Regions from separate parts of the Homo sapiens genome. Here all the other regions are linked to region 3. The links are contacts of gene promoters, found by promoter capture Hi-C in blood cells and fetal thymus (Javierre and others, 2016). All regions are on one chromosome and are shown on one strand. Each heading gives the region's core, a stretch centred on a gene start or on the middle of the fragment in contact. The rest is flanking DNA. Distances are from core to core; before and after follow the strand shown. Region 1 overlaps LOC100506639 (a long non-coding RNA gene). Region 2 has its middle 4.8 kb from the start of HMGCS1. Region 3 holds the start of RIMOC1 (RAB7A interacting MON1-CCZ1 complex subunit 1). Region 4 overlaps TMEM267 (transmembrane protein 267). Region 5 overlaps CCL28 (C-C motif chemokine ligand 28). Region 6 overlaps ZNF131 (zinc finger protein 131). Region 7 overlaps ANXA2R-OT1 (ANXA2R overlapping transcript 1).

What was found. The method cuts DNA at HindIII sites, captures the fragments that hold promoters and counts their contacts. A CHiCAGO score of 5 or more calls a contact.
Region 1: a contact is called between a fragment that was not itself captured here and the fragment with the promoter of RIMOC1 in region 3, in 1 of 17 cell types (naive CD8 T cells). The highest score is 5.4, in naive CD8 T cells.
Region 2: a fragment that was not itself captured here is called in contact with the fragment with the promoter of RIMOC1 in region 3 in 1 of 17 cell types (neutrophils); the score reaches 9.5 in neutrophils.
Region 4: a contact is called between a fragment that was not itself captured here and the fragment with the promoter of RIMOC1 in region 3, in 1 of 17 cell types (neutrophils). The highest score is 8.5, in neutrophils.
Region 5: a fragment that was not itself captured here is called in contact with the fragment with the promoter of RIMOC1 in region 3 in 1 of 17 cell types (neutrophils); the score reaches 8.3 in neutrophils.
Region 6: a contact is called between a fragment that was not itself captured here and the fragment with the promoter of RIMOC1 in region 3, in 2 of 17 cell types (neutrophils and naive CD8 T cells). The highest score is 5.8, in neutrophils.
Region 7: a contact is called between a fragment that was not itself captured here and the fragment with the promoter of RIMOC1 in region 3, in 1 of 17 cell types (neutrophils). The highest score is 13.7, in neutrophils.

The regions. Positions count from the first base shown.
Region 1 is chr5:43,072,966-43,076,043 of GRCh38, reverse strand. The region is part of intron 2 of LOC100506639 (a long non-coding RNA gene); the gene reads right to left. Among named protein-coding and RNA genes, the nearest start is that of ANXA2R-OT1, 7.1 kb to the right of the region's middle. RefSeq lists enhancers at 1,230-1,729, 1,863-2,157, 1,730-2,231. The HindIII fragment of the contact is 2,189 bases long and covers 400-2,588 here.
Region 2 is chr5:43,316,639-43,319,784 of GRCh38, reverse strand. No RefSeq gene overlaps it. Among named protein-coding and RNA genes, the nearest start is that of HMGCS1, 4.8 kb to the right of the region's middle. The HindIII fragment of the contact is 3,484 bases long and covers 1-3,146 here.
Region 3 is chr5:41,902,495-41,905,663 of GRCh38, reverse strand. RIMOC1 (RAB7A interacting MON1-CCZ1 complex subunit 1) reads right to left here and starts at 1,320. Exons shown (of 6, transcript NM_175921.6): 1 at 1,197-1,320. The coding sequence starts at 1,296. RefSeq lists enhancers at 1,218-1,337, 1,090-1,636, 1,748-1,887. The HindIII fragment of the contact is 10,560 bases long and covers 1-3,169 here.
Region 4 is chr5:43,473,302-43,476,081 of GRCh38, reverse strand. The region is part of intron 1 of TMEM267 (transmembrane protein 267); the gene reads left to right. Among named protein-coding and RNA genes, the nearest start is that of TMEM267, 9.2 kb to the left of the region's middle. The HindIII fragment of the contact is 7,857 bases long and covers 1-2,780 here.
Region 5 is chr5:43,388,938-43,391,779 of GRCh38, reverse strand. All of the region lies in intron 1 of CCL28 (C-C motif chemokine ligand 28), which reads left to right. Among named protein-coding and RNA genes, the nearest start is that of CCL28, 22 kb to the left of the region's middle. The HindIII fragment of the contact is 5,574 bases long and covers 1-2,842 here.
Region 6 is chr5:43,135,243-43,138,146 of GRCh38, reverse strand. The region is part of intron 3 of ZNF131 (zinc finger protein 131); the gene reads right to left. Among named protein-coding and RNA genes, the nearest start is that of ZNF131, 16 kb to the right of the region's middle. The HindIII fragment of the contact is 853 bases long and covers 1,017-1,869 here.
Region 7 is chr5:43,045,558-43,048,796 of GRCh38, reverse strand. All of the region lies in intron 2 of ANXA2R-OT1 (ANXA2R overlapping transcript 1), which reads left to right. Among named protein-coding and RNA genes, the nearest start is that of ANXA2R-AS1, 5.0 kb to the right of the region's middle. The HindIII fragment of the contact is 4,869 bases long and covers 1-3,239 here.

The DNA of each region.
Region 1 (3,078 bases), core at 245-2,744, 1.2 Mb before region 3:
TGGACACAGTTTTATCTTTTCTTGCTTCCTTTCTTACTTGCTTTCTTTCTGTCTCCCTTCCCTTCCTCCTTAACTATAACCCTAACTCTAATTATATCCATGTGAATATTTCAGGCTATATTACTTATCACCATCTACATATGCACTCCCCTTTCTGGGATAAGTTGTATCTTTGCTTTCACTTTCCTCAGCAGAAGTTTCTTGGGTATGTCTATCCAGAAAGACACTCTCTGTGTTCCCCACATTTTCTGGGAAAGAAGAGACTCTCACAAGGCCTCTTAGTGGTTCAAATTAGCACCATCATAACATTCATGGATTCGGGATACACTGTGTAACTGGAGCTCTGCTTTCACAAGGCCAGGTTCATACTTGAAAGATTCTCCCCGGGGACCCAAAGCTTGAAGGGATGAGTAACTCCCCCCTTCTCAGGCCCAGTCCCAAGGCACAACGCCACTTGCACCAGCAGCGTGTGTCAGCAAGATAGCAGAAGCAGGAAGAGAGCCAGCCGGAAGACACATTCCCTGGCCAGAAGACACGTACCCCTGAAGATCGAGAAAGAGGCCGTCGCGTACTACATAGCAGTCATGTTAGACTGGGACACTTCCTGTTTACAGAGGACTATAAACCCCCTGTACCGTCCTCACTTGGGGCTGATGCCATTTTAGGCCTCAGCCCACCTGCACTCACGTGCTCATTAAAACAGCATGTTGCTGCTCCACACCACTTCGTGTTGTCTTTTGGCGTGCTCTCAGGGTTTGAACCAACACAAGAACCTTACATCTAGTGCCGAAACCGGGGAGGGGCTCTGGTCCACATCCCCCATGGACCTACCCCTCCACCCTGGAGAACAGGCCACAGCAGCAGGACAAAGGAAGCTCCTCAGCCTCCAGTTGCCTCTCTGTGCATGCACATTGGTCACTGGCCTTGCCTATTGGTAAGTTTCCCTAGGAGCCCAGTTAACAAGGGAAAAGCCACATGGCCTCTCTTGGTGTCTACGGTCCAAAAATCCAATGTCGGTCCAGCAAGGCTCCGGCGTGTGCCAGGTACTCGCTGATCATCCCATCACCTGGTCTTAGGGAGACGCCTCTAATCCATTTGATCCCGTTCCAGGAATGAAAAAGGCAGCGGTGATGATGATTGCTCCTTTTGTCTCCCTCTGGCCGTCCAGGACGGTCTCCTTTTTCCCTGTTCTCCTGAGCCTACCCTCTGTTATGGGAAACTCCCGGTCCTCCCTTCCAAAAAACAGCCCTCTAGGCTGCCCCATAAAAAACCTGCAAACCTTAGGCCTCAGGCAAAATATCCACCCTAAGCGCCTTGTCTTTTTTTGCAATTCAGTCTGGCCACAATACGAATTGGATAATGGGTCCAAATGGCCCGCAAATGGAACATTCGACTTTACAGTTTTAACTGAGTTAAGCAATTATTGACAACGACTAGAGAAATGGGGAGAAATTCCTTATGTCCAGGCCTTTTTGCACTCAGATCACAACCCGACCTCTGCAATTCTTGCTCACCTGTTCAAATCCTTCTCCTCCATTCTTGCCACCCTGATTGTCTTTCTCCTCCCAACCCTACCTCTTTTTCCTCGTTAGATCCAGCAGACTGCTGTCCACCCCTCCCAACCCCTACCTCTTCCTCTCAATCGTCTTCTTTAGCCCAAGCCTCCTCGTTGTCTTCTCAACCGCCATCTTCCCAGCCACCATCTTCCCAGTCAGCAGTATCTGCTTCTTTTCCTACACCGCCCCCTCCTCAGGACAATTCTAGTATTGCCTGTACCCATTCTCCTCCCCTACTGCCTTCTCCTGAGGCTTGTAAACCCATCCCACCACCTTACGCCCCTATCTATCCTCCACTACCTGTTAACTCAATCCCCCTTTCCCCTTCAAACACTCAGCAGGAACCACTTCCAGGTTCTTCCTTCTCTCCCATCCACACTTGTTCAGGTGCCATGTTTGGCCATGCCCCACCCTTACTTTAGTGCCTGTGCTAGAGTGCCCTCTTCAGGAAGTAGCAGGAACTGAAGGTATTGTTAGAGTTCATGTTCCCTTCTCCCTCACTGATTTCTCTCAAATTAACAAAAGACTGGGTTCATTTCCAGAAGACCTGACCTCTTATATTAGGGAGTTTCAGTACCTTACCCAGTCTTATGAACTAATCTGGCATATCCTCTACGTTATCCTCTCTTCCACCCTCACCCCAGAAGACCGGGACCATATCTGGACCCTAGCTCAGGGGCATGCTGATCAATTTATCACCAAGCTCCTGCCCAGCCTACTGGCGCACAGGCAGTCCCCAACCAGGACCCCCACTGGGATTATCAAGACAGGGCCTCTGGACGCTACCATTGAGACCACAATTGTGTCTCCTTGCAGGACTCAAAAAGGGTGCCCATAAAGCGATAAACTATGAAAAACTTTCAGAAATCCCCCAAGATCCTGACGAAAAAACAGCCCTTTTTCTCTCTTGTTTAACTGAAGTCATGAGAAAATATACCAACCTAGACCCAACCAGCCCAGAAGGAACCACTATTTTAAACCTTTAGTTCATGTCCCAATCCACCCCGATATTCGGCGTAAGCTACAGAAGCTTGATGATGGCTCTCAAAACCCACAACGAGACCTTCTTAATTTAGCCTTCAAAGTCTTTAACAATCGTGATGAGGAAAATAAAAGGCAAAAACATGCAGAGTTTCAAATGCTTGACTCCGCCATCCGGGGCCCTGCAGGCCCACAGGGCCGCAGCTCCACACAGAAGCCTCCTAGCAATCCACCTCCACCTGGCGCATGTTTCAAGTATGGCAATGAAGGCCACTGGTCTAGACAATGCCCAAACCCAGGTAAGCCCATCAGGCCATGCCCCCTCTGCAGAGGACCCCACTGGAAGTTGGACTGTGAGCGGCCCCCACAAGGACCACTCCCATCCCTTCCTGAGCTGGCCAAAACCTCCTACTCGGATCTCACTGGCCTTGCCACTGAAGACTGATGGGGCCCTGGAATGGACGCCCCGGCAACTACCATTGCTTCATCTAAGACAAGGGTAACCCTGATGGTGGCAGGTAGGCCAGTATTTTTTCTTATT
Region 2 (3,146 bases), core at 165-2,664, 1.4 Mb before region 3:
TTAATGTGTACAGTGGGGTAGCTTTAGGAGTGCTGACTCAAGAACACAGATGCCACCGGCAGCCCGTAGCCTTCCTATCAAAGGTCTTAGACCCAGTCACTCGTGGATGGCCTCAATGCATCCAGTCCATCGTGGCTATGGCAATACTAGTCGGGGAAAGCAGAAAGTTAACCTTTGGAGGAAAATTGACAGTAAGCACGCCTCACCGAGTTAGAACTACCAGAGAGCAGGGAGATGGCCTACTGAATAAAGAATCTTAAAGCATGAGGCCATTCTGTTAGAAAAGGATGATTTAACATTGACTACTGATAATTCACTCAACCCAGCAGGTTTCTTAACAAGGAATCCACATCTAAGGGGGGAACACACATGTTTAGATTTAATTGATTACCATACAAAGGTTCAACCAGACCTAGAAGAAACCCCCTTCTGGACTGGATGGCACTTATTCATAGATGGTTCTTCCGGGGTGATTGAGGGAAAAAGACACAGTAGGTATTCAGTGATTGATGGAGAAACTCTCATAGAAATAGAATCAGGAAAATTGCCCAACAGTTCGTCTGCTCAAACGTGTGAGCTGCTTGCACTCAGCCAAGCCTTAAAGTACTTACAGAACCAGGAAGGAACCATCTATACAGATTCCAGGTATGCCTTTGGAGTGACCCATATGTTTTGGAAAATTTGGACTGAACTAGGTCTCATCAATAGTAAAGGTCAAGACCTTGTTCACAAGGAGCTGATCACCCAAGTATTGAATAATTTTCGGTTGCCAGAAGAAATAGCTATTGTCCATGTTCCCAGACACCAGAAAATTCTTTCTTTTGAAAGTCGAGGAAATAACCTAGCAGATCAGGTAGACAAGCAGGCTGCTGTGTCTTTTGAATGTGTATTTTTCACTTAACTCCCTACCTCCCTCCTCCTACCATAATCCCCATTTTCTCTTCCACCAAAAAAGAGAAAGTAATAAAAATAGGTGCTAAAGAGAATTCAGAAGGAAAGTGGATACTGCCAGACCAGAGAGAAACGTTATCTAAACCCCTTATGAGGGAAGTCTTATCCCAACTACATCAGGGGACCCACTGGGGGCCCCAGGCCACATGTGATGCCATTCTCAGAGTTTATGGTTGTATAGGAATTTATACCCTGGCCAAACAGGTTACAGATAGTTGCTTAGTATGTAAGAAAACTAATAGACATACTACAAAAATATTACCACTCGGGGGAAGGAATCCAGGCTTAAAGCCATTCGAAAGTATCCAAGTTGATTACAAAGAAATGCCTCCAACAGGTCGTCTGAAATATTTACTAGTGATAGTAGACCACCTCACTCACCAGGTCGAAGTTATTCCCTTTTCAAATGCAACAGCCAATAATGCAGTTAAGGCCCTAATTGAAAATATAGTACCCAGGTTTGGACTAATAGAAAATATTGACTCAGACAATGGAACTCATTTCACCACACACATTATTAAAAAGCTATCCCAAACATTAGATATTAGATGGGAATACCATACTCCCTGACACCCATCCTCATTAGGGAGAGTAGAAAGAATGAATCAGACTCTAAAGAACCACTTAACCAAATTAGTCTTAGAGACTCGATTGCCATGGACCAAGTGTCTTCCTATTGCCCTGCTGAGAATTTGAACTGCACCACGGAAAGACATTGGTCTTTCTCCTTATGAGATGTTCTATGGATTACCTTATTTGCACTCTACTGCTGATATTCCTACCTTTGAAACAAAAGATCAATTCCTTAAAAATTATATGCTTGGTCTAGCTTCTACTTTCTCTTCTCTTAAAACTAAAGGTCTATTAGCACAGGTGCCGCCCTTGGAGTTCCCGGTGCATCAACATCAGCCTGGGGATCACGTCCTCATCAAGAGCTGGAAAGAGGAGATGCTTGAGCCAGTCTGGGAAGGTCCTTACTTAGTGCTCCTAACTACTGAAACTGCAGTCCGCACAGCAGAGAGAGGATGGACTTACCACACCCGGGTCAAGAAAGTGCCACCCCCTCCAGAGTAGTGGCCATAGTCCCAGGGGAAAACCCTACCAAACTAAAGCTAAGAAGAATTTAACTCTCTTTCATCTATTCTATTAACTTTCTTCTTTCCTCGTTCTATCGCTGATCATCTAGTTATTAACATAACCAAGTCAATTTCGCCTCAAACTATTGCATTTGATGCTTGCCTTGTTATACTGTGTGGGGATTTGTAAAGTCAAAGGCAGCTCTCTACTTCAGAAAAGTACCTCTGTCCCTCCTGGCTCTCCTCATACTGGGCATTAGTGAATTGGGACCATTTAATTCGGGGAGATTTTGATAAAGACCCCAGTGGCAACCAGGAGTCTTGCCCCCACCGACACAGAGCTTTTATGCTGTAGTTGGTCCAACGTTCTGTGGACCACCAAAGAGCAAGGATGGACTGCCCTGACCAGTTTTTGTAATTTCCTAAAACCACACATTCATTTTACTAAACGGACAGCCCCCAATAACTGTCAGCTAAACCAGTGCAATCCTATATAGGTTATTATCTTGAGCCCCCAAAGTTCTTCCCCTTTTCTAAGCCAGTTCCCTTCTTTAAGCCGATTTTATGGCATGTGGGCTAGATGTCAGGGACAGACCCTATTGGATCCTTGAAATGCATTTCTTTGATCCCCTGCCACCTGCACCTGCCTTTAAGCCTTTTTCCAAAACCTCTCACAACGGAACCATTGTTCCTCCTCCATCTACCGACAAGGCCAAGATAGCGATGGTAGAAGTTAAAGACTTAAAACAAACTTTGGCAACTGAGACAGGATACCAAGATATAAATGCCTGGGTGGAATGTATCAAATATTCCATCCACACATTAAACAAAAGCAATTGTTATGCTTGTGCACATAGCAGGCCAGAGGCCCAGATTGTCCCCTTTCCACTAAGGTGGTCCTCCAGTCGACTCGGCATGGGCTGCATGGTAGCTGTTTTCCAGGATTCTACAGCCTGGGGTAACAAGTCGTGCCAAGCTCTCTCTCTACTATATCCCGAAGTCTGACACCCTGTGGGTCGCCCCCAAGGGCCATTCAGCTTCCATCTCCCAACACCAAGTTCACTTCGTGTGTCTCACAACAGGAAGGAAACTTAGCATTCCTTGGAGACCTGGAGGGAT
Region 3 (3,169 bases), core at 71-2,570:
GCTCCTACTACCCAAGAATTATTCATGTGAATCCACAGACCAAAATATAAGTCGGCTTCAGGGTGGTCTGTAGGTCTTTAAAGAACACACTCCTGGCCTGGCACAGTGGCTCACGCCTGTAATCCCAGCACTTTGGGAAGCCAAAGCGGGTGGAATGCTTGAGCCCAGGAGTTCAGGACCAACCTGGATGACATGGTGAACCCCGTTTCTACAAAATATGCCAAAGTTAGCCGGGCGAGATGGTGTGCGCCTGTTGTCCCACTACTAGAGGGGCTCCAGCCTGAGCAACAGAATGATACTCTGCCTCTAAAAACAAAACAAAACAAAACACTCCTGATAAATGATAATCTGGCAAAAAATATTCACTGAAACTAAGGCATTTCATCATAGACCCTATTTAATAACAAATTCACCAACTATTCAATCGCTTAAGAAAATGTTCCACCACTGTTTTCCTATGAGTCCGATGATATGAGTCAGTCCACAGAATTTTAAAAACTATCTGTAGTAATTGCTCAAACTCAAAAAGGAATAATGTAGAACCTAAAGGCAGCTGAGACGTAATGAAAAGAATTGGACTTAAATTCAGAAGGTTGAGGCAATTCCCTAGCCCAGTTTTTCCTAACAGCTTAGACCTTTCCAAAACAAGTATGCCAATACTTAACAGAGCCCTTGTGAGAACTGGCATGATGTATGGGGCAGAATAGTCTACACACCAATGTAAAGCTCTTCTATAGAATGTTGTTTTGAATCCAAAACGTAAAACGCAAATTACAACGCAGCAATGAAAAAGTGGAACTGTTATACATGTCTTTTTATCTTTACAGGATGCAAACCACCATAACTAATTTGAGTGTTATCATTCATCTTAGCCATTTATTTAAACTTCTGTATTTTATTTAGATTCTGCCCTTCTTCCAATCGCTACCGAGACAGTTTACACCAGCACGGATCTAGACAGATTTTCCATGGGTTCTGAATAATGCGGTTTTCGAAGACAACGCCTTGGCATTGTGAGTTCTGGGAAGTGGGCAATCGATGGCGCAGAGGGGCTCAGAAGCGACAGACCTCGGGTAACCACCTGCGGCCTGGGACCCAAAGGAACACAGGCCTCAGCCTCTAGCCCTCACAGCCATCGAGCGCCAGTACCTTAGCGCCGTCTGCCCCGCCCGCCTCCCTCTCCTCCGCTCCCTCACCATCTTCACCGGCAGCTTCGCTAAGTTGCTGTATGTGGGCCTGAGCCAGATCCCCGAGCTCTTCCACTCGTCTCACCACACTAGAGACTGCGGCCGCCATGGCCACAATCGGCGGGTGCGCCCCGGTCACGTGACCGTGTTGGCCCGCAATCACCTGATCCCCCGGCACGGGCGGGGCCTAGGGCGGACCTCTCCTGGTTGGTGGGAGGAGACATCAGCTCCGGAAGAGGGCTGGCCCAGGCCGGCAAAGGTCTTTCCGGGTCATTTTTCCCTCCTGGACTTCCCTTCCCTCCCATAATCCTGAGCAGCAAGGAGACTAGGGGCGGGTGTGACGTTGAGACACGCCTCTCTCTAGCCCCCTCCTGTAAGCCAATAGGGAGCCAGCCGTGCCCCTCGGCTGACCCAATCGGAAGTCAGCTCTCTCCGCCTGCCTCTTGGAAGACAGCTTGGTGACGTCTGGCTGGCAGGATGCGGATTGTCGTCCGCACTCCCACTTCCCTGTCCGGCGCGGGAAGCACAGTCTGGAGGGCGGACGCGAGGGTCTGGAGAGAGGACTGTCAGTTTTGGCCTTGTAGTAAGGAGGTTGCTAAAATAAAGTGATTATAATCTCCTGGTCCTAAATGGAAACCCGACCGGCCCCCTGTGTAACACATCCAAGTCTCCAAGAGTTTGTTGTACATCTGGATGGGGAGCTCCAAACACTAGTGGAGTTGCCAGTCTACATGGTTGAATATTGCTTTTGTAAATCTGATTTTTAGCAGTCGAATTTATCTCTGACCTCCCTTGGAGTTCACATTTAAAGTACTTTAGACATCTTGCGTCCAGTGGTAGTAAATTCTGCGGCCACAAAACTATTTTCATTTTTCTTTCATCTCAAGACCTTCCCTTAAGGCGCTAATTGTGCATGAGGTTCATCCTCTCAATCGGGAGTTTCAAAGCACTCAGTCAGCAAGTCTAACTTCACTTTGCATTCTGTGAATGCTTTCTTGCCTCTGGTCAAACAAATCGTTAACTCTGTGTATTCATTTCTCAGTTTGACACACTATATCTTGAATAATCTCCATCCTATTGTTTCTCATGGAAGGTAGTTTTTTATATGTAATAGAAAAATACTAAAAATAGAGAAAAAGTGTATTGTGATTTATAAGTGATTGACCACAATGACTCTCTAACTGACCTTTGTAATACCAGTTTCTTCTGACAATTCACCCTAAATATAGAGGACAGGAATCATGTATTTTGTGTCCTTGGTGCCTCATACAGTGCCTGGCACATATGCACTCTTGTCAACAAGCAAGATGGCAAGGGGATATGATGTGGTCTGTGGGAGTAGACAATTATTCAATAGTGTGGGAATTGTAGGTGAGGAAAAAAAGAATCTAAGTATAAACAAGAAGTTGAGAGAAGGCTTTCTCAACAAGGGATGGAGAAGGTGGTAGTTGAAGAGGGGCAAGTGCTGGAAGGTAGGGTGGAGAATGATCGTATCTGTACACAAAGGGGGAAAAATAGGGAAATAGGGATAAATTCAAAATGAAAGTAGGGAGCCAGCAATGGATAGAGAAAAGAGCAGAAGGTTACACCTGATGCCTTCTGAATCTTCTACAAGATGTAGAACTAAATGAAGCCTTCAGAAGATTTTACTAAACTTTTCAAAAAATAATTTTCAAAAAATAATTAACCTTTGATTAGGAATTTTCAGTCTCCTAGAAAATGTGTAATTTACCATTCTTAAACTACTTAAAAGAATTACCTGGACATGTGGGCAACAGACAAAGGCACAGCTGAAATATTTTGACTGTGGATCTACAAATTATCTCTGCAGAAGTGTTTTACTCTCAGGTCCACTGTTCTTCTCAGGCTTTTATAAAAGACATCTTAGGATCTATGTAATCAGGTCATCCATTTTCTAGCCATGAGATTTGGGTCTGGGAGATCTTGCTCATGATTTCGAAGTGATCTTGGATCGCCATTTG
Region 4 (2,780 bases), core at 249-2,748, 1.6 Mb before region 3:
TCACAGTGTGCTCTCCATTGACCTTCACGGTGTAAAAAATATGACTTGCTTCATTTGTGAGTTCCATATAATGTCTCCTATAGCCAACAGTACCCAGAACTATATAAGGAAGGGAATTCTGGGAAATGTTTTTAAGTCCGAGTTAGCTGAGTTGATACAGTACAAAGCCATTAGAGCTCTAGTTAACTGATCTTTTTCATCTTTTAATAGAGTTTTGTTGTTTCATTCTTGCTATTTTAATTCTTGGCATTTTGAGTTGCTGTTGTGAATGTTCATTTTCCCATCTTATGATTATTGCTATTATATTGAAAAATTGTTTTAGTTCATACCTTGAACTAACCACATTTTTCAACTTAAATTCCAACAGTTTTCTGTTGGTTCTCTTGGGTAGGCAGTCATTTCACCTGCAAACTAATGTAATTATCTTTTCCTTCCTGATAATGTAATGATACATTTTCTTCCCTCCCTCTCCTGCCTTTATTCTTTTTCCTCATTACATTGATTAAAACCGCCAAAACGATGTTATAATAGCTATACTGTTTCTGACTTTTTTTTAAATTATACTTTAAGTTCTGGGGTACATGTGCAGAATGTGCAGGTTTGTTGCATAGGTATACACGTGCCATGGTGGTTTGCTGCACCCATCAACCTGTCATCTACATTAGGTATTTCTCCTAATGCTATCCCTCCCCTAGCCCCCCACCCACCTATAGGCCCTGGTATTCCCCTCCCTGTGTACCCTCTCTGTGTCCATGTGTTCTCATTGTTCAACTTCCACTTATGAGTGAGAACATGCGGTGTTTGGTTTTCTGTTCTGTTAGTTTGCTGAGAATGATGGTTTCCAGCTTCATCCATGTCCCTGCAAAGGACATGAGTTCATTCTTTTTTATGGTTGCATAGTATTCTGTGGTGTATATGTGCCACATTTTCTTTATCCAGTCTATCACTGATGGGCATTTCGTTCCAAGCCTTTGCTATTGTAAACAGTGCCACAATAAACATACGTGTGCATGAGTCTTTATAGTAGAATGATTTATAACCCTTTGGGTATATACCCAGGAATGGGATTGCTGGATCAAATGGTATTTCTAGTTCTAGATCCTTGAGGAATCGCCACACTGTCTTCCACATTGGTTGAACTAATTTACACTCCCACCAACAGTGTAAAAGCGTTCCTATTTCTCCACATCCTCTCCAGCATCTGTTGTTTCCTGACTTTTTAATGATCGCCATTCTAACTGGCGTGAGATGTGGTTTTGATTTGCATATCTCTAATGACCAGTGATGATGAGCCTTTTTTCATTTTTTTTTTTTTTTTTTTTGAGACAGAGTTTTGCTCTTGTTGCCCGGGCTGGAGTGCAATGGCGTGATCTTGGCTCACCACAACCTCTGCCTGCTGGATTCAAGCAATTCTCCTGCCTCATCCTCCCGAGTAGCCGGGATTACAAGCATGCACCACCACGCTTGGCTAATTTTGTATTTTTAGTAGAGATGGGATTTCTCCGTGTTGGTCAGGCTGGTCTCGAACTCCCGACCTCAGGTGATCCACCTGCCTCAGCCTCCCAAAGTGCTGGGATTACAGGCGTGAGCACCACGCCTGGCAAATGTCTTCTTTTGAGAAGTGTCTGTTCATATCCTTCACCCACTTTTTGATGGGGTTGTTTGCTTTTTTCTTGTAAATTGGTTTCTCTGTAGATTCTGGATATTAGCCCTTTTTCAGTTGGATAGATTGCAAAAAATTTTCTCCCAGTCTGTAGGTGGCCTGTTCGCTCTGATGATCGTTTCTTTTGCTGTGTAGAAGCTCTTTCGTTTAATTAGATCTCATTTGTCTATTTTGGCTTTTGTTGCCATTGCTTTTGGTAACAAAAGACGAAGTCTTTGCCCATGCCTGTGTCCTAAATTGCCTAGGTTTTCTTCTTGGGTTTTTATGGTTTTAGGTCTTACGTTTAAGTCTTTAATCCATCTTGAGTTAATTTTTGTATAAGGTGTAAGGAAGGGATCCAGTTTCAGCTTTCTGCATATGGCTAGCCAGTTTTCCCAACACCATTTATTAACTAGGAATTCCTTTCCCCATTGCTTTTTTTTGTCAGATTTGTCAAAGATCAGATGGTTGTAGATGTGTGGTGTTATTTCTCAGGCCTCTGTTCTGTTCCATTGATCTATATATCTGTTTTGGTACCAGTACCATGCTGTTTTTGTTACTGTAGCCTTGTAGTATAGATTGAAGTCAGGTCACGTGATGCCTCCACCTTTGTTCCTTTTGCTTAGGATTGTCTTGGCTATTTATGCATGCTGTTTTTTGGTTCCATGTGAAATTTAAAGTTGTTTTTTCCAATTTTGTGAAGGAAGTCAATGGTAGCTTGATGAGGATAGCATTGAATCTGTAAATTACTTTGGGCAGTATGGCCATTTTCATGATATTCATTCTTCCTATCCATGAGCATGGAATGTTTTTCCATTTGTTTGTGTCCTCTCTTATTTCCTTGATCAGTGAGTGGTTTGTAGCTCTCCTTGAAGAGGTCCTTCATATCCCTTGTAAGTTGTATTCCTAGGTATTTTATTCTCCTTGTAGCAATTGTGAATGGGAGTTCACTCATGATTTGGCTCTCTGTTTGTCTGTTATTGGTGTATAGGAATGCTTGTGATTTTTGCGCATTGATTTTGTATCCTGAGACTTTGCTGAAGTTGCTTATCAGCTTAAGGAGATTTTGGGCTGAGACGATGGGGTTTTCTAATTATACAATCATGTCATCTGCAAACAGAGACAATTTGACTTCCTC
Region 5 (2,842 bases), core at 299-2,798, 1.5 Mb before region 3:
AGATTATTTAAATTAATTCACACATGGCAGTTACACTAGTGCCTGGCACACAGTAAGAACTCAAACAATGTCTGTTATCATTAGGATGTTTGTTGTAGCCTTGCTTGTAACAGTAAAGTACTGGAAACAGTTACTTAAAAATAAGACTGAAGGCAAATATGGAAAAGACTTAACATTAATAACATTTGGGTGATGAGTATATAGGTGTTTTTATTATTCTTGGTAGTTCCTCTGTGTTGAAATGTTTCACAAGGAAAGGGGAATAGTAGTTAAGTCATCATTTATTTATTCACATCTACATTTCCACAGAAGTATTAGTTTAGGTGAATTGTCATGTCTTGATTTTTAAAGTTTCCATAGAAAGAGGTTACTGAACTCGTGTTATTGGTATAAAATATAAAGCTGTCTGGCCTCAAAATACTTTTCATGTCATCCTCCTACAACTTACATTCATAAATTCTATATTCCAACCAAATTTGCATGAATCTGCCTTTTTCCACATTTGTATCTTTACACCCACTGTCTCCTCTATATTTACTGCCCTATTCATATTCTATCCATTTTTCACATTTTCAGCTCAAATGCCACCACCTTGATAAAGATGGACCCAAGTCTCTATAATTTATCGCTTCTGCCTTTCAGTGTTCCAGATACCATTCTGTTTATCACATAGCCCTTGCCACATTTTCTCTTATGTTAGAAATGTTTTCCCCCTACTTTCTTTCACACACACTCTACAGAAGCACACCATTATTTTTAATGGAGCAAAAGTTGATACAATCTCAAAAATGCCAGAGCAAACTGATTCAAATATGATTTAAATACTGATTTCAATTCACTGCATAGACACATCAGATGCTACCCATGGAACTCCTATACTCTGGGCTTCACTGGTTGGTGAGTAGAAATTGTGATGTTCTGGGTCCCCACTTTCTTGCCTGGCAGTAATTACAAAGTTGCTGCAGGATTTCTCAATCCAAATATTCTTGACAATTCTCAAATAGTGGGTCCTGGAGAAGGGTACTTTCCCTCTAAGAGTCTGGGGGAAGTTGACCTGATAGTGTAGGAGGGATGATCCCTTGCATAATCAGAACCCTTACTCCCAGTTTTGTGGTTCCTCTGTTGGGCAGCTGCTCTGGATCCATTTGAAACCCACTGGTGGTTGCCCACTTCTCCAGAGAGCTGACCTCAGTGCCTGCTTCTCAGGCCAGCTGGGAAACGCATCTGCTGATCTCACAAATCACTTTTCAGAGAAATTCCCAGATGGATCTGTTGGGCTTTGCCCTTCCCAAAGCAAAGGGAGCACCTCTAGGAGGGGTTAGGGAGGCAGTTGGGGGTGGATCAGGCAAAGTCTTGCATTATACCTCAGATCCTTGCTCATTCATACCTCTGGACTCCGCTGCTTTATTAAGCCCACTCTGCAAGACTTCTCTTATTTTCAGTAATAGTCACATATTTCTCTTCAGGGGAACCCCTTCTCCATCATACAGGTTTGTGTTTGTGTGAACTCCAATTCTGGAACATAAGCTGGTTATTTTCCATTATATACCTGACCAAGGTGGTCTTTGCAAACAGGTTTTGGCCTCCCCGACCTCTTATCAGCTTGCCTCCCCAACAACCTCTCCAACAACCATTGTTCAGTATCATCTGAACAAAACTATGTAAATGCTGAAGAAATGTCACATAATCATCTTTTTCAGCCTAATTGACACACCAAAATCTCTCCTATATAGAAATTCTGGAGTCATAATTGAAATAAAGGGAAGTAGCTGATGGCTTTTTAAAAATGGAACTATTCTGACAGGAGGCTGCAGGAGGGAACCTCTAGGGGGCGATGTTATCTAACAGAATTTTACAGTTGCCCTATTCGGAACTACCCAGTTTACATTCTCCATTGCCTAACTTCCCATGTTCTCTCCAAAGTTGTTTCCTGGCCTCTTATATTTTCTGCTTCCTCTGGAGGGCACTAGTTGCACCTACTAACATGTAATAAATGCTGGCCTGCTTCTTGCCTTTTTATAGTTAATGTGACTTAGATCAAGTGATCTCCAGCTGAGCCCATCCTACGTTTATATTAATATTTGAGAAATGCAATCCAGTTTACTAAGTATATATAGGCCCCCGGTACTCTTCTGGCTTAAGACTGTTTGAATTGATATCAGCACTCAGATAACTCAAATTCCTAAACACACAGATTTTCTTGTGATTCTTAATTGCTACCATGCTTCTGAAAGTATGTTTCCTATTAGAGTTGCTTGGGCCACAGCTAATCTTTGAGGCTAGTAACGCTTCATCTTTCTACCTTCAGGGTCTAGCGTAGTGATTCACGTATAGTGAGATGGGTGGATGAATGGGTGGATACGTGATAAATCCAATACCTTGTTCAGGATATTAAGAGTTTGACTTAGGCAGCACAGCATAGCTAAAGAAAGAAACAGTTTTAGGAAATAAATGCATTAATAAATGTAGGAACAACCAGTATTCACAAACCATAAAATTCTCCATTTTAAAGTATAAAATTCAGTGGTCTTCAATATATTCACAGAATTGTGTGATCACCAATATCTAATTCCAGCACATTTTCATCACTCCAAAAAGAGATCTTGTACCTGTTCACAGTCACTCCGTGTCCCCTCCTTTCACTCGTCCCTCTCCATCCCTTAGCCCCCCAGCCCCTGGCAACCACTAATCTACTTTCTGTCTTTATGGATTTGCCCATTCTGGATCTTTCATATAAAGGGAATCATACAGTATGGCCTTTCGAATCTGGCTTCTTTCATGTATAATCCCATAACCCTTTGAACATAACTCTTTAACACTTATTTTGCTGTGTTGGGATTAT
Region 6 (2,904 bases), core at 194-2,693, 1.2 Mb before region 3:
TTCATCTTGCGCAATTGAAACTTTATGCCCACTGATTAGTAACTGCCCATTTCCTCCTCCCTCCCAGCCCCTAGCAACCCGTATTCCACTCTTTCAATCTATTTGAGATAGCTCATATGAGTGGAAGTGACTATTTTAGATTCCTCATATAAATAGAAATATGCAGTTTATGTCTGTGACTGGCTTACTTCACTTAGCATAATGTCCTCAAGGTTCATCCATGTGGTTGCATATGCAGAATATCCTTGTTCTTAAGAGCTGAATAGTATTCCATTGGATACATATACTACATTTTCTTTATCCATTAATCTGTTGACGAATATTTATTTCCTCTCGTGGCTACTGTAAATAGTGCTGCAATGAACATAGGAGTGCTAAAACTTCAAGATCCTGATTTCAGTTCTTTTGGATAAATGTTCAGCAAGTGGGATTGCTGAATTGTATGGTATTTTAATTTTTTAAGGAACATTCATACTGTTTTCCATAATGGCTGCACCTATTCCTGCCAACATTGTGCAAGGATTCCAATTTATTTATATCCTCACCAATACTAGTTGTCTTTTTTTTTTTGATAGCCATCCTGAAAGGTGTGAAGTGACTGATACCTCATAGTGGTTTTGATTTGCATTTCCTTGATGCCTAGTGACACTGAACTTTTTTTTCATGTATCTGTTGGCCATCTGTTTGGAGAAATGTCTATTCAAGTTCTTAGCACATTTAAAAAAACATTTTTAATTTAATTTTTTTCTGCATCATTTAGACTGTTTTTAATTGGGCAGATATTTTTTACTATCAGTTGTGGGAGTTTCTCATATATTTTTGGGATTCATTCCTTATCATTTATTTGGTTCTGCAAATACTTTCTCCCATTCCTTAGATTTCCTTTTCACTCAGTTGTTTCCTTTGCTGTACAGAAGCTTTTTAGTTTGATGTAGTCCCACCTGTCTTATTTTCTGTTGTTGGCTGTGCTTTTGACGTCACATCCACGAAATTACTAAGAATGATGTGGTGAAGCTTCCCCTCATGTTTTCTTCCAGGAGATTTACATTTTTTGGTCTTATGTCTAAGTCTCCAATTCATTTTGAGTTTTTTTCTTTTTTATGGTAGAAGATAGGGGTCCAATTTCATCTTTTTTCATGTGAATACCTAGTTCTTCCAACATCATTTGTTGCAGAAAACATTCCTTCCTTATTGTGCATTCTTGGCATCCCTGAAGATCAGTTGACCATATTATTTGCATGTTTTTATTTGTGGGCTCTCTATTCTGCTCCTTTGGTCTGTATGTCTCTTTAAGCTAGTCCCATACTGTTTTGGTTATTGTAGCTCTGTAAAATATTTTGATATCAAGAAGTATCATGTCAGCTGGGTGCAGTGGCTCATGCCTGTAATCCCAGCACCTTGGGAGGCCAAGGCTGGTGGATCACCTGAGGTCAGGAGTTCGAGATCAGCCTGGTCGATATGGTGAAACTCCGTCTCTACTAAAAAAAAAAAAAAAAGAAAAAGAAAAAAGAAAAAAAGAAAAAAATTAGATGGGGGTGGTGGCACGCACCTGTAATCCCAGCTACTTGGGAGGCTAAGGCTGCAGTGGGCCAAGATTACACCACTGCACTTCAGCCTGGGCAACACAGTAAGACTACCTCAAAAAAAAAAAAAAAAAAAAAAAAAAAAAAGTATGATGCCTCTAGCTTTGTTCTTTTTCAAGATTGATTTGGCTAGTCCATGATTTTCTGTGGTTCCATATGAATTTTAGAACTGCTTTTCCTGTTTCCATAAAACAAAAAAAATTCCATCAGGATTTTGAGAGGGACTGTATTGAATCTGTAGCCCACTTTCTGTAATACAGGCTGAATATCCCTCATATGAAAAGCTTGGGATCACAACTGTTTTGGATTTTGAAATATTTGCATTATACTTGACACAGGTTGAGCATCCCAAATCTGAAAATCCGAAATCCAAAATGCTCCAACAAGCATTTCCGTTGAGTCATGTTGATGCTCAGAAAGTTTCAAATTTTATAGCAGTTCATTTTTTCTTCTTCGAGACCAAGTCTCACTCTGTTGCCCGAGCTGGAGTACAGAGGCTCGGCTCACCGCAACCACCACCTCCCGGGTTCAAGCGATTCTCCTTCCTCAGCCTCCCAAGTAGCTGGGACTACAGGCACGCACCACCATACCCACCTAATTTTTATATTTTTAGTAGAGACAGGGTTTCACTACGTTGGCCAGCTGGTCTTGAACTCCTGAAATTGTGATATGCCCGCCTCGGCCTCCCAAAGTGCTGGGACTATAGGCGTGAGCCACTGCACCTGGCAAGCAGTTCAGATTTTCAAATTTGAGATGCTCAATCTGTATGGACAATTTAACAATACTGAGTGTTCCAAATCCATGAAGATCTATTGAGTGTCTTTAGTTTCTTTTTTCTTTTTTGAGACGGAGTCTCGCTCTGTCGCCCAGGCTCGAGTGCAGTGGTGCAATCCATGCTCACTGCAACCTCAGCCTCCCGAATAGCTGGGACTACAGGAATGGGCCACCATAACCAGCTAATTTTTGTATTTTTTTCCGGAAGAGACAGGGTTTCACCATGTTGTTCAGGCTGGTCTTGAACTCCTGACCTCAAGCAATCCACCCGCCTCCGCCTCCCAAAGTGCTGGGATTACAGGCGTGAGCCACTGTGCCCAGCCCAATTTCTTTAATGTTTTATGGTTCTCAGTATTGCATGTCTCTCACCTAAGGAGGTGAAAGGTTAAGCCTATTCCCAGTTACTTTATTCTTTATGGTGTCAATATAAATGGGATTGTTCTCCTAATTTCCTTTCCAGATAGTTCATTGTTAGTGTATAAAAATGCAATTGATGGCCGGGCGCAGTGGCTCACACCTGTAATCCCAGCACTTTGGGAGGCCGAGG
Region 7 (3,239 bases), core at 106-2,605, 1.1 Mb before region 3:
GATCACAGGTGATAAAAATTATAATGTATTAGCATATTGAATCCAGCAATATATGTTTTAAAAAATACATCATGATCCAGTGGGATTTATTCCATGAACTCAATATTGGTTTAGCACTTGAAAATCAGTTAATATTAGTCAACACATTAACATTAAAAAGGAAGTAAACCATGTGATAATATCAGTAGATGCAGAAAATCTTTTAAAAATTTAACCCCTTGTCATTCTTAAAACAAAACATATCTTAACAAATTAGAAAAAGTGGATTCCCTTATTTATTTAAAACTATATCTATAAGAGACATACATAGTTAATATTCCACCTTGAAAGAAATAAAAATGTTTAACCCCAAAATATATTTATTTGAAATATTTTCAGATGGCTGCCAGAGAACCAGCAAAATAAGTAGTCCTGCAATGCTTTCGTTTGTGGGAAAAATTTGCATCTGTAGAAAATCTGCATTGATTCATACAGGCCTTCTCTTGTCTGGATCTAGGAAGGATTAACAGAGTCTGAACCCTTACAAGTTTTCTCTCTCCTATAACCTGTTTTGGCATGATGCACTTTTTTGTGTAACCTCAAGATGGTATATAACCTCCTGCACCTCACTGAGGGGCTGAGCAATCATACATTTTCTATGTGTTTTCTCCTATTAATCTGCCTCTGTGAGTCCATTTTAGAGCAAACTTTCAGAGTGCGCAGAGAAAGATTTCCCTTGGCCCCTGAAAATTTGGTGCTGTGAGCAGGAACCCAAAGTTTGGCTCTTTTGGAAGCCCACAGTTGAGGGAAACCAGGAGCTGATCAGCCAGCATAAGGATAAAGAATTTTTACCAGCCAGATTCCAGGCCCCACTCTGTGGAATCTGGTGAAGTAGACAGTAAAAATCACTCTCTATTTTTCCTGTCCAAAATATTGACTGATGGGAGAAAAGGATTTGTGTGACTAGTGCTGGTGTATCGACTCTGGTGTACTTTTTGGTACTTTGTAGTATGAATCATGTTGTTTCATCCCCTTTCCTCCCAGAATAGTCTTTTCTTTGTCTTTATCTTTCTGTATTCTGTCATAAAGAGGAGTAAGGAGTATAGCAGTACAGTACAGATGAAGGTTTTCTCTCATCTCGTTTTGTTTTTTTTTTAATTTGTTTTGTTTTTTTTTAGACAGAGTCTTCTTGCGCTATCGCCCAGGGTGGGGTGCAGTGGCATGATCTGGGCTCGCTGCAACCTCTGCCTCCTGGGTTGAAACAATTCTCGTGCCTCAACCTCTGTGTAGCTGGGATTATAGGCATGCACCACCACACCCAGCTAATTTTTATATTTTTAGTAGAGACTGTTGGCCAGGCCTCAAACTCCTGGCTTCAGGTGATCTGCCCACTTCGGCCTCCCAACGTGCTGGGATTACAGGCGTGAGCCACCAGTTCCCAGCCCTATTTTGTTTTTGTTTTAGAGACAGGGTCTTACTCTTTCACCCAGGCTGAAATGCAGTGGCATGATTATAGTTCTCTGTAACTTTAAACTTCTGGATTCAAGCCATCCTCCTGCCTTGGCTTCCCTAGTAACCAGGACTATAGGCTCATGCCACCACACCCAGCTAATTTTTAAAAAATACTTTTGTAGAGATGGGACCCCTTATGTGCCCAGCCTGCTGATGAACTCCTGGGCTCCCGAAGCACTAGGATTACAGGTGTGAGCTACCATGCTAGGCCTGAAATAATCAATATGCCAGAGGTATATTGGTATATTGGGGTGGTGTATTCTGGTGTCCAACAGTCAAATTTTGAGAGAGTGTGTCCAGAATAATCAACTCAGAACTTAGGTTGCTATCTTGAACTGGAGTGTTAGGGAGAAGGGACACAGTAAAATCACACACACACACACACACACACACACACACACACACACTACATTAGAAGATGAGCCTTAAATTTGCACCAAGAGTTGATTTCTTAACATTGAATGCTAAAATTACATTTATCTATTCAGCCACAGACAGAGCTATATGCACTCCAACTTCCCTAAGTGAGGCTGTGCATCTACAAAATGGAGAGAACTAAGAAGAAAGCCCAGCACAAAGCATGTGCTCACCACATTTTTCGGTTGAGAATGAAACAAGATAAAGCACAAAATATAGTTGGTATGGTGTCTGTCACAAATAATGATTTTCATGCCACAAACCACACAATATGTGAGAAGAACTAAAAGGGGAGGCAAGAAGCTGAAAGTGTTTATGAGAAATTGCACCTTACAGATACTGGAGGAGTGGGGAAGATGATTTTCCCACTTACCCAACCATTTCAGTGTATTGAGCTATGAAAAAAACAAATACAATCAAAAAATAGGTTTCAAAAAATTACAACTTGGCTTGGCATGGTGGCTCATGCCTGTAATCCTGGCACTTTGGGAGGCCGAGGTGGGTGGATCACATGAGATCAGGAGTTCAAGGCTAGCCTGGCCAACATGGTGAAACCCCGTTTCTTCTAAAAATACAAAAATTACCCGGGTGTTGTGGCAGGAGCCAGTGGTCCCAGCTACTCTGGAGGCTGAGGCACAAGAATGGCTTGAACCTCGGAAGCAGAGGTTACAGTGAACTGAGATCGTGCCACTGCATTCCAGCCTGGGTGACAGAGCAAGATTCTGTCTCAAAAATAAATAAATAAGTGAACAAAATAAAAATAATTTAAAAAATAAAGAATTACAACTCTAATCTCTATGCTATTTTCAAGACATAAACAAACTAAAAAATGGCACTAAAGATTGAAAATAAAGGAGTGGATACCTGAATTTAATCAGTTCTAGGGTAAACATTTTTCTCATTTAGTATCTCTGAAATATGTATATATTTTTAAATGGGTGGCCTCTTACCATTGGGACACAGTATAATTTGCAGCATTTTCCTCTGTTAATGGTATATGTAATAATGTCTCAGGTGACCCCTTCTTACAGAGCTTGTAATCCCAGTTATGTTATTTTTTATTTTATTTTATTTTCTGAGACAACGTCTCCCTCTGTCACCCAGACTGAACTGCAGTGATGCGGTCCCAGATCACCATTCACTGCAGCCTGCATCTCTAGGGCTCAAGAGATCCTCCCACTTCGGCTTCCCGAGTAGCTGGGACTACAGGCACTCGAGACCAAATCCGACTAATTTTTCAATTTTTTTTTTCTTTTTTTGGTAGAGGCAGGATCTCACTTTGTGCTTAGGGTGGTATTGAACTTCTGGGCTAAAGAGATACTCCTGACTTA